3 separate regions of the Homo sapiens genome follow, and all the other regions are linked to region 1. Evidence: promoter capture Hi-C in human tissues and cell types (Jung and others, 2019). All regions are on one chromosome and are shown on one strand. The core of a region is centred on a gene start or on the middle of the fragment in contact, and the rest is flanking DNA. Distances in the headings are between cores, read along the strand shown. Region 1 holds the start of LRRC37B (leucine rich repeat containing 37B). Region 2 overlaps LRRC37B (leucine rich repeat containing 37B). Region 3 overlaps SUZ12 (SUZ12 polycomb repressive complex 2 subunit).

The links. The method cuts DNA at HindIII sites, captures the fragments that hold promoters and counts their contacts. A contact is called where the count stands out against the background at its distance.
Region 2: a contact is called between a fragment that was not itself captured here and the fragment with the promoter of LRRC37B in region 1, in 1 of the 25 tissues and cell types used here (spleen).
Region 3: a fragment that was not itself captured here is called in contact with the fragment with the promoter of LRRC37B in region 1 in 1 of the 25 tissues and cell types used here (H1 embryonic stem cells).

The regions. Positions count from the first base shown.
Region 1 is chr17:32,004,636-32,008,799 of GRCh38, forward strand. LRRC37B (leucine rich repeat containing 37B) reads left to right here and starts at 2,748. Exons shown (of 15, transcript NM_001321350.2): 1 at 2,748-3,497. It overlaps LOC124903972, which reads right to left and starts at 3,072. Exons shown (of 4, transcript XM_047437248.1): 1 at 2,741-3,072; 2 at 1,972-2,070. The coding sequence starts at 3,072. RefSeq lists an enhancer at 1,749-2,671 and silencers at 2,714-2,763, 2,804-3,153. The HindIII fragment of the contact is 11,687 bases long and covers 518-4,164 here.
Region 2 is chr17:32,047,652-32,051,815 of GRCh38, forward strand. LRRC37B (leucine rich repeat containing 37B) reads left to right here. Exons shown (of 15, transcript NM_001321350.2): 12 at 110-250; 13 at 1,451-1,743; 14 at 2,352-2,456. Among named protein-coding and RNA genes, the nearest start is that of VILMIR, 33 kb to the right of the region's middle. The HindIII fragment of the contact is 3,391 bases long and covers 332-3,722 here.
Region 3 is chr17:31,966,699-31,970,862 of GRCh38, forward strand. All of the region lies in intron 5 of SUZ12 (SUZ12 polycomb repressive complex 2 subunit), which reads left to right. Among named protein-coding and RNA genes, the nearest start is that of SUZ12, 32 kb to the left of the region's middle. The HindIII fragment of the contact is 3,191 bases long and covers 433-3,623 here.

The DNA of each region.
Region 1 (4,164 bases), core at 1,498-3,997:
CCTGTGTGCCACTATAAGACTTAAAAGTATAATGATGAGGCATCTACCATAGTGCCTGGGCACATTAGTGATCAATAAATGTTAAATATTATTGTTAAGGTAGTAAATGAATAAAAATTCAGCAGCATTACAGGAATGAGTCACTCAGTAATTCTGAAGAAAGAAGGGCTATATTAAATCATAGATAAAAGGATACTGGTGGAGTACCCTTATTCTGAAAATCTGAAATCCAAAATGCTCCAAGGTCCAAAAGTTTTTGAGTGTCAACATGCTGTTCAAAGGAAATGCTCATTAGAGCATTTCAGATTTTCAGATTAGAAATGATCAACTGGTAAGTAGAATGCAAATATTCCAAAAATGCCCAAAACACTTCTGATCCAAAGCATTTTAGGTAAGGATGCTCAACCTATACAGTATTCACTGACTTAACATTTTTCTTCTTGAAGCCACAGAAAGATAAATTCATTAAAGCATAAAGGAGCAAAACAGCAAATACCTGCTAATCCATTCAAAGAAGAGTTGGGTTTTTTTGGTCTATTTTGTTTAACTTTTCTCTTTTTTTTGGTGGGGGGGAGGGGGTGGTGAAGGAGTCTCGCTCTGTTGCCCAGGCTGGAGTGCAGTGGCATGGTCTCCGCTCACCACAACCTCCGCCTTCCAGGTTCAAGCGATTCTCCTGCCTCAGCCTCCTGAGTAGCTAGGACTATGGGCACATGCCACCATGCCCGGCTAATTTTTGTGTTTTAAGTAGAGATGGGGTTTCACTATGTTGGCCAGGCTAACCTCGAACTTCTGGGCTCAAGTGATCCACCCACCTGGCTTCCTAAAGTGCTGGGATTACAGGTCTGAGCCACCACACCTGGCCACCCTCTTCAAACAAAATATGAGCATTTCCATTGGCCTAGGTCTTCACCTTGTCTACTTTATTGACTTACATTACTTACCTAGTCCCTGAAGACATAACACACATTTGCCACCCTTAGAGCTCAACCAAACTGTATTGAATGCATGTATTTGGCAATTAGTGCTTGTATTTTAATTTTCATTTCACATATGTGTTCCATTTTCCTAACTAGATTGAAATAAGCCATCTCCTATTAGGTATTTTTCTTTCTTTTTTAAAAATTTTGAGACAGGGTCTTGCTCTGTCACTCAGGCTGGAGTGCAGAGGTGCAATCATGGCTCAGTGCAACATCCACCTCCCAGGCTCAAGCGATCCTGCCCCCTCACCCTCTGGCGTAGCTGGGACCACAGGTGCGCACCACCATGCCCGGCTAATTTTTCAATTTTTTTCTAGAGACGAGGTCCTGCTATGTTGCCCAGGCTAGTCTCAAACTCTTGACCTCAAGCAATCGTCCGGCTTTGGCTTCTCAAAGGGCTGGGATTGCAGGCATGAGCTATCGCGCCCGGCCAAGTATTTTTGTTTAAATTACTTTTTGGTTGTCACTTATCTCAATAAATATTAACATATGTTTACGAAACCTTTCTTTTTCTTTTTTTTTTTTTTTTTTTTTTTTTTTTTTTGAGACGGAGTCTCGCTCTGTCTCCCAGGCTGGAGTGCAGTGGCGCGATCTCGGTTCACTGCAACCTCCGCCTCCCGGATTTTACGCCATTCTCCTGCCTCAGCCTCCCGAGTAGCTGGGACTACAGGCGTGCACCACCTACGCCCGGCTAATTTTTTTTGTATTTTTAGTAGAGATGGGGTTTCACTGTGCTAGCCAGGATGGTCTCGAACTCCTGACCTTGTGATCCGCCCGCCTCGGCCTCCCAAAGTGCTGGGATTACAGGCGTCAGCCACTGTGCCCGGCAAACCTTTCTCTTATCTGAAGAACTGACCTCAACCACTCAGGGTTGAGTCCCTGTGATAAGGTTTGAGGGTGCCTGAACTGTCACCATGATTCGTCCCCTGGGCTGAGCTCAAACCTAGTGATTTGTCAGGTAAATAAATTAAGGTTATTTCCCGATAATACAGACCTGTAACACCGTGAAGTAGGTTTTAGGCAGGATTCCCTCTTTTCCACTGCAAAGGAGAGGTAAGTTCTTGCTAAGGTGGTCAGGCTCCTAGCTGGGACACTGGGAAGGTGGCGGGAGATTGGAACATGCAGTAGTTGCATTCTGGAGTTTACTGAGGCTTTCCGAGTGGGGATCCCATGCAACAGGTCTTAGGGACCCCCCTCCCTCCAGGCGTGGCAGCCCGGGGTGTGGCTCCTGGCACAGATCCGGAGCAGTTGTCATCGGAGTCAATTCAGGACTCCACTTCCAAGCTTCGGAGTTTCCTAAATTCTGGGGGCTTGTCTCCCTGTACCCCACCCCGACTAATTTTCCTCGGTCGCTGGCGCTGCCCCGTCCCTTAGGTCGCTCGGGCCGCCCCCCTCCGCGACTTTTTTTTTCTTTCTCTCGCTGCCTCTTTCAGCCTCAGTTTCCCTAGAGGGCGGGAGGGGAACGATATTTGGGGGCTCTCCTGCCTTCCTCTCCGAGCCGCGGAAGGGGAGTCGCGGGAAGGAGACCCGGCAGGCTTTGGGCTCCAGCCAGGGGTCCGCGGAGACTGTGGTCTCCGAAGGCCTTAGACGCGGGGCTTGTCAGGAGCTGCGGGCCTCTTTCAGCCGCGCCACCCGCACCCGGAGCGCCGTGCTGCGCCAAGTCCAGGCGCCCCGAGCTCTCCGCCCCCGACTCAATGCTCCCGCGCTCCCCCTAGCGGCCGCCGCGCCACCTCGCCCCCTTCCCAGGCTGGGCGGCGGCGCACCTCACGTGACCGCGCTCCTGTAGAGGGAAGAAACAAGGTGGCGGTTGAAGGCGATCTTGAGTGGGGCCCCAGCAATTCGGTTGAGCCTTCTCCCTCCACTCGCTTCCGCCGGCCGGGCCCCTCCCGCCCAGCCCCTCGGGCCTCCCAACCCGGCCCCGGCGCTCCCCACCGCCGCCACTGCGCCCGGCCCTCCCCGTCAGCTTTCCCTTCTCCCGCCGCCTGGGCTCCAACAAGAGGGGCCGGCGGGGCAGGCCGACCAAGCAGCCCGCGGCTCCCGCTGCGGAGCGCTGCGCCCCGGCCCCGCCGCCGCCGCCGCCCACGTCCGGACCCATCGGGGGCTCCCCTCGCCGATACGCGGTAGTAGCCGGGGCAGGTGGGCAGCCGCCAGGCTGAGGTGGCGCCCAAGACGCGGCTGAGCTCGCCCAGGGTGGGCAGCAGTAGCCGGAGGAAGCCACCGCCGCCGGCCCGCCCCGCGCCGGCACCAGCGCACGGGCCCGGCGGGGGCGCGGGGGCAGCCACCTAGCCCGGACCACCGCAGCCCGGAGGGCTGTCAACAGAGTGGTGTATGATGACTACGAGAGCGAGGAGGAGGAGTAAGAGGAGGGGGGCGGCGATGCCGAGGAGACCCAGGAGTCTGAGGACAACTAGGAGGATGACATGGAGGAGGACGACGATGACTCCGATTATCCGGAGGAGCTGGAAGATGACGACGAGGACGCCAGTTACTCCACGGAAAGCAGCTTCAGCAGCACTCCAGGTACCCACCCAGCGCAGTTGCTGCAGACTCATTCCCCACCTCCTCTCCCCTCCCCCCTTGCTCACTTATGTGCTGTGCATCCCGCTCCGATCTCCCGCCAACCCCGCCGACCCCTAAACTTTAGAGGGGAAATGGGAGGGCACATCAAGTGGCAAAAAACTAGATTTATAAGAGGAAAGAAGCACATTGTTCAAAATGGAGATTGCATTGTTGCAGGCCGCACTCGCTTGCTCCCCGTCCCCCCAACTCCCTTTTTTTCTCCTCAAAATTTGTGCCAGTGCAGTGTCTCCACCGGGCAGGATTGAAACTTTGGCAAACACATATCCATTGCATTCATTTTTCTCCCCTTGTTTTGGTGTGGTTTTCTGGAATGAAAGAAGCCTCTTGTTTTGCAAACCTCTTTGCATTTCTAATGTGTTTCCTTTCGGATTTTCATTATATATCTGTTCCTTAAAAGGGAATTAAGGATTTGTACAGATTGTGGCACACAGACACACAGAAAAACATGCCTGTGTTCACACCCCTAGCTGTGGTTTTTAAATTGTGTTAAGGAAACGGATCATTTTGGTTAGTAGGGGAACTTTACCTGGTCCTGTGTGTTTGTTTTTATTCTTCGAGTGCTGACGGGCTAGTGCAACAGTTGCTGGTAAATGGCTGATTAAAAAGC
Region 2 (4,164 bases), core at 777-3,276, 42 kb after region 1:
AATGTTTGCTGACTCTTACTCTGTGTGACTGGGGCATATAGCTATGGACTGAGTATGAAAGATGATCAAAGATATTTCATGATCAAAGCAGTCTCTTCTTTTCTGACAGCTGAAGAAGCATCTGTAGGGAATCCAGAAGGAGCGTTCATGAAGATGTTACAAGCCCGGAAGCAGCACATGAGCACTCAGCTGACTATTGAGTCGGAGGCGCCCTCAGACAGCAGTGGCATCAACTTGTCAGGCTTTGGGGGTGAGCAGCTAGACACCAATGACGAGAGTGATGTTAGCAGTGCACTAAGTTACATCTTGCCTTATCTCTCACTGGGAAATCTAGGTGCAGAATCAATATTGTTACCGTTCACTGAACAGCTATTTTCAAATGTACAAGATGGAGATAGGCTCCTGAGTATTTTGAAAAACAATAGAAAGAGCCCCTCACAGTCCAGCCTTCTAGGTAACAAATTTAAAAACCAAATATTTGAAAAAAAAATTAGAAACTGTGCAACCACAGGAAAACAGCCTGGCAGATTCAAAGTGTAGGCAAAAACCTGCAGAGAGTGAACAGAGTCCTCATGGGCCCAAGGAGCATCCAGGAAAGGCACTTCAAAAAGGTGGGAAAGCACAGCACTAGGAAAGAACAGGATGCCCAGGCATTTGTGGACAATGCTGCCAAAGGAAAAAGGCTTGAGGGTCCAGCCCCAAGGGAGCTGGAACAGCCTCACATAGTGCAGGGGCCTGAGAAGGTAGTGGGAAACACCATCTACACCAAGCCTTCATTCACCCAAGAGCATAAGGCAGCAGTCTCCTCTGTGCTGAAACCCTTCTCCATGGGCGTGCCTTCTGCCTCTAGCCCTGCAAAAGCCCTACCTCAGGTCAGAGACAGATCGAAAGACTTAGCCTACACCATTTTAATTTTAGAAATGGCAATGGCTAGAGTGAAAAACATGAAGGCTGCTAAACCAATCACACATTCCAGAAAAAAATACCGCTTTTATAAAACTCACTCCCGTGTGGCCCACAGAACACCGAAGGCCAAAAAGATTAGAAAGTTTAGAAAGGGCAGTTATCTCAACAGACCGATGCTCGCAAAGAGGCCGCTGTTCTCTGCAGCGAAGAGCCTCATAAATTCGCAAGGGGTTTTTTCATCCTTAGGAGACCTGAGTCCTCAAGAAAACCCTCTTCTGGAAGTAGTTGCTCCTTCAGAACGTTTTATAGAAAACACTAGTGTAAAAGACACAACTAATGTAAAAGACACAAAAGAGATGTGTTCAAAGACACATCTCTGAAAACACAAACTACAATCATCCTCCTGAGGCAGTTTCCGCTGGGACTGCATTCAACTTAGAACCAACTGTTAAACAAACTGAGACAAAATGGGAATACAACAATGTGGGCATTGACTTGTCCCCTGAGCCCAAAAGCTTCAATTACCCATTGCTCTCGTCCCCAGGTGATCAGCTTGAAATTCAGCTAACCGAGCAGCTACGGTCCCTCATCCCCAACGAGGATGTGAGAAAGTTCATGTCTCATGTTATCCGGACCTTGAAAATGGAATGTTCAGAAACACATGTGCAAGGGAGCTGTGCCAAGCTCATGTTGCGAACAGGCCTCCTGATGAAGCTTCTCAGCGAGCAGCAGGAAGCAAAGGCATTGAATGTAGAATGGGATACGGACCAACAAAAAACAAATTATATTAATGAGAACATGGAACAGAATGAACAGAAAGAGCAGAAGTCAAGTGAGGTGAGGACCACACAGAAACATGAGACCCAGATTTCCCATCATTTAGCGTATGCCAGGAGAGTGCCCACATAGGAGAACCTGGGACTCCCAGGCCATAGCTTGTCTTGGCCATGTAACTTTGGCCATGACAGTGATCTCCCACTTTGCTCATGTAGACAGTGAAATAGATTAGGGCACAAGATGAACTGTAGGCCGGGGGTGGTAGCTCATGCCTGTAATCCCAGCACTTTGGGAGGCCGAGGTGGGTGGATCACTTGAGGTCAGGAGTTTAAGACCAGCTCGGCCAACGTAGTGAAACCCCGTCTTCACAAAAAATACAAAAATTAGCTGCGTGTGGTGACACGTGCCTGTAGCCCCAGCTACTCAGGAGGCTGAGGTGGGAGGATCACCTGAGCCCAGGGAGGTCGAGTCAGTAGTGAACTGTGATCGCACCACTGTACTCCCGCCTGGGTGACAGAGTGAGATCCTGTCTCAAAAAAAATAAAAAGAACAAAAGAACCTGTAAGCTACTCAACTGGCATACTGGGGTTTTGAAAAGTTAGCTTCCATTCTCTCTCTCTTTTTTTTTAATTGTTCTTTCTTTTTTCTTTTTTTTTTCTTTTTTTTAGCTCATGAAAGAAGTTCCAGGAGATGACTATAAGAACAAACTCATCTTCGCAATATCTGTGACTGTAATACTAATAATTTTGATTATAATTTTTTGTCTTATAGAGGTAAGGACAATAATTAATTCAGGTTTTCAGAATACAATCCTGTGTTTGTGTGGATTCAGAATCCACAAACTGAAAACCAACGTCACTTTCCCACTTGACATTCTTCTTCTGTCATTTAAGGCTGAGGTGTGCTTTGTTCTTTTACTGCAATGTATATTCCAGGATTGTTAAAGGATCCTCGCTTCCAGGAGGTCTCTGTGAAATAAAACCAAGTTAATCCCACTAGACTATTTTAAGAAGTTAAGTTGATATAATAGCAAAATTTCTCCCACCCAAAACTATGTCAACAATTGGATGTACTCACTGAGTCACCCCTTACTCTGCCACTAATTTATTTCCTTGTTGCTTAAATGATGAGAGACATATAATCTCCACCCTCACGGAGTTGTAATCACCCTGGAGAGGAAGAAGACAGCCAAAAGAGAGAAGTATTGTCTTGTAGACTTATTAGATTCACATAGTATCATCCTTCTCCAGTGTGTAAGGTGTTGTCTAAATAGGTCCAGTTAAAGAACTACAGGGTAGCCATTTTTAAAAAAAAATTTTGGCCACGTTTTCAAATTCACAGGGGAGGGGGAATGTCTCATACTCCAGCCCTCCTGAGCCTAGGCCCTCTGTGAGATGTGTCACCATTTCTTGGACACCATATGAGACATTCCCCCTCGGATTAGAGATGCTCAACCTGCATCAACAAATCTAAAGCCTACATCTGGCTACCCTGGGGCGAGTCCTGTTTACAGTGCCCATTCCTGGAGCTCGCCTCTTTTTGCCTTTTGTTTGATTATGTGATGTATTACTTTTCCCAGCAGGCCAGTGCTAGCACACTGGAAGAGGGATTTAATAAGCTGGCACCCTTGATGCTATGCTCCTAATCCAACCTTATTTGCCTCATTGGCCATTTCCATTATGGTGGCAGCCCTCCATTCCAGCCACAGCAGCCCCTCAGCGTCCCCCAGTCACACCGTCCCCATTGCTGCTTATCTGTGCCTTTGTCCATCTACAATGCCCTTATTTCACTCTGCCTGTGGGAGTCCTGTGAATCTCTCCAAAGCCAACTCAGTTCATCTTTCTGCTTGAAACCTTCCCTGAATAGGCCAGGTGCGGTGGCTCACGCCTGTAATCCCAGCACTTTGGGAGGCCAAGGCAGGCAGATCACAAGGTCAGGAGATGGAGACCATCCTGGCTAACACAGTGGAACCCCGTCTCTACTAAAAATGCAAAAAATTAGCTGGGTGTGGTGGCGGGCGTGTGTCGTCCCAGCTACTTGTGAGGCTGAAGCAGGAGAATGGCATGAACCTGGGAGGTGGAGCATGCAGCCAGCCAAGATCAGGCTGCTGCACTCCAGCCTGGGGGACAGAGCGAGACTCTGCCTCAAAAAAAAAAAAAAAAAAAGAAAGAAAGAAACTTCCCTGAATATTCCAGCCCTCCTGAGCCTAGTCCCTTTTTGAGATTTGTCCCCATTTCTTGGACACCATATGAGAGACTTCAGAGGCTGAAGTGGGAGGATTGCTTGAGCCTGGGAGGTCGAGGATGCAGTGAGCTGTGGTCATACCACTGCACTCTAGCCTGGGCAACAGAGCGAGACCTTGTCTCAAAAACAGCCACCACCAAAAACTATCTTGGGATTTGAATAGGATTACCTTAAATTTGTAGATAAATTTGAGAATTGACATCTGTACGACATTCTAGAACATGGTATTTCATGTCA
Region 3 (4,164 bases), core at 778-3,277, 39 kb before region 1:
TTTTATGCATAAACATTTTGAATTAATGATACTGTATCATGTTTTAAAAAAACACAGTAAAACAACTGAAATAACCACTATTACCAATGGCATATATTAATATTTTAGATATTATTCAAAGGAAATTATATGGTATATTACTCCAGTAAAAGCTCAAAGCATGCTGGAAAGAATTAGAGTTGTTTTAAAAATGGAAAAATACGGCCAGGCGCAGTGGCTCACGCCTGTAATCCCAACATTTTGGGAGGCTGAGGCGGGTGTATCATGAGGTCAGGAGTTCAGGATGTTCAGGAGTTCAGGAGTTCAGCTGGCCAATATGATGAAACCCCATCTCTACTAAAAATATAAACATTAGCCAGGCGTGGTGGTGGGTGCCTGTAGTCCCAGTTACTTGGGAGACTTAGGCAGAAGAATCACTTGAACCTGAGAGTCGGAGGTTGCAATGAGCTGAGATTGCGTTACTGCACTCCAGCCTGGGCGACAGAGCGAGACTCCATCTCAAAAAAAAAAAAAAAGGGAAAATCACTTATCAGCTTATCCATCATAAGTCTGTGTATATGGCATATCTTTTTATTATGCAATGGAATAAAACCATTATTAGAAACATGCCAGGTTGGTTGTCTTGGTATCGTTTAGTAAGAAACAAAGATTGAAAATGAGTCCTGGTGGGCCGGGCACGGTGGCTCACGCCTGTAATCCCAGCACTTTGGGAGGCTGAGGCGGGTGGATCACAAGGTCAGGAGATCGAGACTATCCTGGCTAACATGGTGAAACCCCGTCTCTACTAAAATACAAAAAAACTAGCTGGGTGTCGTGGTGCACACCTGTAGTGTCACCAGTGGCACTCCAGCCTGGTGACAGAGCGAGACTCTGTCTAAAAAAAAAGAAAAAGAAAATGAGTCCTGGCCTGGTGGCTCATGTCTGTAATCTCAGCATTTTGGGAGGCTGAGGTGGGAAGATGACTTGAGGCCAGGACTTCAAGACCAGCCTGGGCAACACAGACCCCATCTCTACAAAAATTAGCCAGGTATGGTGGTATGTCCTGTAGTTCTAGGTACTTGGAAGTCCAAGATGGCAGGATGGCGTAAGCTCAGGAATTCAAGGTTACAGTGAGCTATGATTGCACAACTCTACTCCAGGCTGGGCAACAGAGTGAGACCTTGTCTCCAAAAAATCCCAAATATTAGACTGGGCGTGGTGGCTCACAGCTATAACGTCAACACCTTGGGAGGCTGAGATGGAAGAATAGCTTGAGGCTTGCCTGGGCAACATAGGGAGAACCTGTCTGTAAGAAGTAAAAAAAGATTAACTGGGCACAGTGGCACATGCCTGTAGTCCCAGCTATTCTGTAGTCTCAGCTACTCAGGAGGCTGAGGTGGGAGGATTGCTTGAGTCTTGGAGGTTGAGGCTGCAGTGAGCCAAGATCACACCACTGTACTCCAGCCTGAGTGACAGAGTGAGACACTGTCTAAAAAAGACAAAAAGACAACCTTGCCAATTGGCCAATTGTCAAAATGCTCTAATATAACCATTTTTTAATGACTCTTTGGGGGTTGTTTGTTTGTTTAGACAGGGTCTTGCTCGTGTCACCCAGGCTGGAGTGCAGTGGTGTGATCAACTCCTGGGCTCAAGTGATCCTCCTGCCTCAGCCTCCTGAGTAGCTGGAACTACAGGCGTTCCCACCATGCCTGGCTAATTAAAAAAAATTTTTTTTGTTAAGATGGAATCTCACTACATTTCCCAGGCTGGTCTCAAACTCCTGGTCTCAAGTGATCCTCTCACCTCAGTCTCCCAAAGTGCGGGGATTACAGGTGTGAGCCACTGAGACTGGCCCTAGTTAGGGTTTTTATGTAAGAAATTTGAAATCTCGTATTTGTATTAGCAGCTAATGTAACTTCTAGTTTTTACCTTAGATCTGGTCTATTTTTTATATAGAAGTAACCTGGGTAGCATTACGGTTTTTGTTTTCCTTAAATTATTTGTAATGGTCTGCTTAGAGTCCTTATTTCTAGTCATCGTATTTTGTTTTCTGTGGTACTTCTGACGTGTCTAGACTTTAATTCTTCAGAAACTTATAATTTGAATTTTATACATTCATTAGCCCTTTGTTCTCAGGGACCTGTGTAGAACACATAGTTTATCCATCACTGAAATTTTTGGAAAGTAGTCATATTAAGCTTTTTTCCTATCTTCATGACAAAATATATAAAGTTCAACAATTGCTCAGATTTACTTTGTTTTTATTTTTCTTGATATTGAAGTAAAAGAGATAGTGAACTCTGTTGATATCTCTGTTTCCAGAAAATAATTCCTCTGTCACCTAGGCTGGAGTGTAGTAGTTTGATCTCAGATCACTGCAGCCTCTGCCTCCAGGTTCAAGTGATTCTCATGCCTCCACCTCCCAAGTATCTGGGATTACAGGCGGGTGCCACCACACAAGCTAATTTTTTTTCTTCTTTTTCTGAGATGGAGTTTCACTCTGGTTGCCCAGGCTGGAGTGCAATGGCGCAATCTCGGCTCACCACAACCTCTACCTCCCGGGTTCAAGCAATTCTGTTGCCTCAGCCTCCCAGAGTAGCTGGTATTACAGGCATGCACCACCATGCCCCGCTAATTTTTTGTATTTTTAGTAGAGATGGGGTTTCTCCACGTTGGTCAGGTTGGTCTCTTGAACTCCCGATCTCAGGTGATTTGCCCACCTCGGCCTCCCAAAGTGCTGGGATTTCAGTAGGCATGAGCCACCGAGCCCAGCCCCTAATTTTTATATTTTTAATGGAGACAGGATTTCATTTCACCATGTTTGCCAGTCTGGACTCAAACTCCTGGCCTCAAGTGATTCACCCACCTCGGCCTCCCAAAGTGCTAGGATTATAGGCGTGAGCCACCACGCCTATGTTGAAAATAACTATTCTATTTTAACTTTGAAACTAGTAGAAGTTGGAAGTAGATATATTGTGTTTCTTTTCCATCCAAGGTTTATTTGTACCTTTTTTGTTTTCAATAATATTTTTAAGAAACCAGGATAGAAAACCAACATCAAGTTCTCTAAAATGTACCAGGAGCAGTGATGCTTGCCTGTATTTCCATCTACTGAGGAGGCTGAGCTGGGAGGTTTGCTTGAGCCCAGGAGTTTGAATAGAGTCTGGGCAACATAGTGGGACCCTCTCTCAAAACAAGGAAAAAAAAATTTTTAATTCTTAAAATGTGATTTTTTCTTCTTATTTTCTTACTATTAATTATTTTTTAGACAGAGTCTTGCTCTGTCACTCATGCTGGAGTGCAGTGAGCAGTCTTGCTTCATTGCAGCCTCCCGGGCTCAAGCGATCCTCTCACCTCAGCCTCCCAAAGGGCTAGGATTACAGGCATGAGCCACTGCATCCGGCCTCTTGTTTTTAAATGAAAACTTTTGTTTGGCAATTACTACTTGAAACTGCTTCTTAGAATGAATACACAAAGATTATTTGGGTACTATTTTCATGATGAGTATTGTTCGGCAAATATTTTTGTTACTGCATTTAGACATTGGACTATTTTTTGCTGTATTAAGGTGTTTTTATCCTGGATGCAACTTCCGAAGAAACTGATCAAATGTGTTTTACACACACACCCCCAATAAGAATGTTTTTAAGTAGAAAAAAAGTGTTGCCGGCCAGGCGCAATGGCTCACGCCTGTAATCCCAGCACTTTGGGAGGCCGAGGCAGGTAGATCACCTGAGGTAGGGAGTTTGAGACCAGCCTGGCCAACATGGTGAAGCCCCGTCTCTACTGAAAATAACCAAATTAGCTGGGAATGGTGTTTCATCCCCATAATCCCAGCTACTCTGGAGATTGAATCATGAGAATTGCTTGAACCTGGGAGGTGCAGGCTGCAGGGAGCCGAGATTGTGCCACTGCATTCCAGCCTGGACAACCGAGTGAGGCTGACTCAAGAAAAGAAAAAAAAAAATTACCCAGGCTTGGTGGCTTGTGCCTGTAGTCTGTAGTCCCAGCTACTCGGGAGGCTGAGGCAGGGAGAACTGCTTTAACCCAGGAGGCGGAGGTTGCAGTGAGTCAAGAACATTCCATTGCACTCTAGCCTGGGCAACAGAGCAAGACTCTCTCTCTCAAAAAAAAAAAATAAAGAAAAAATGTGTTGCCCAGTGCCTTAGAACAAAAAATTTTTTT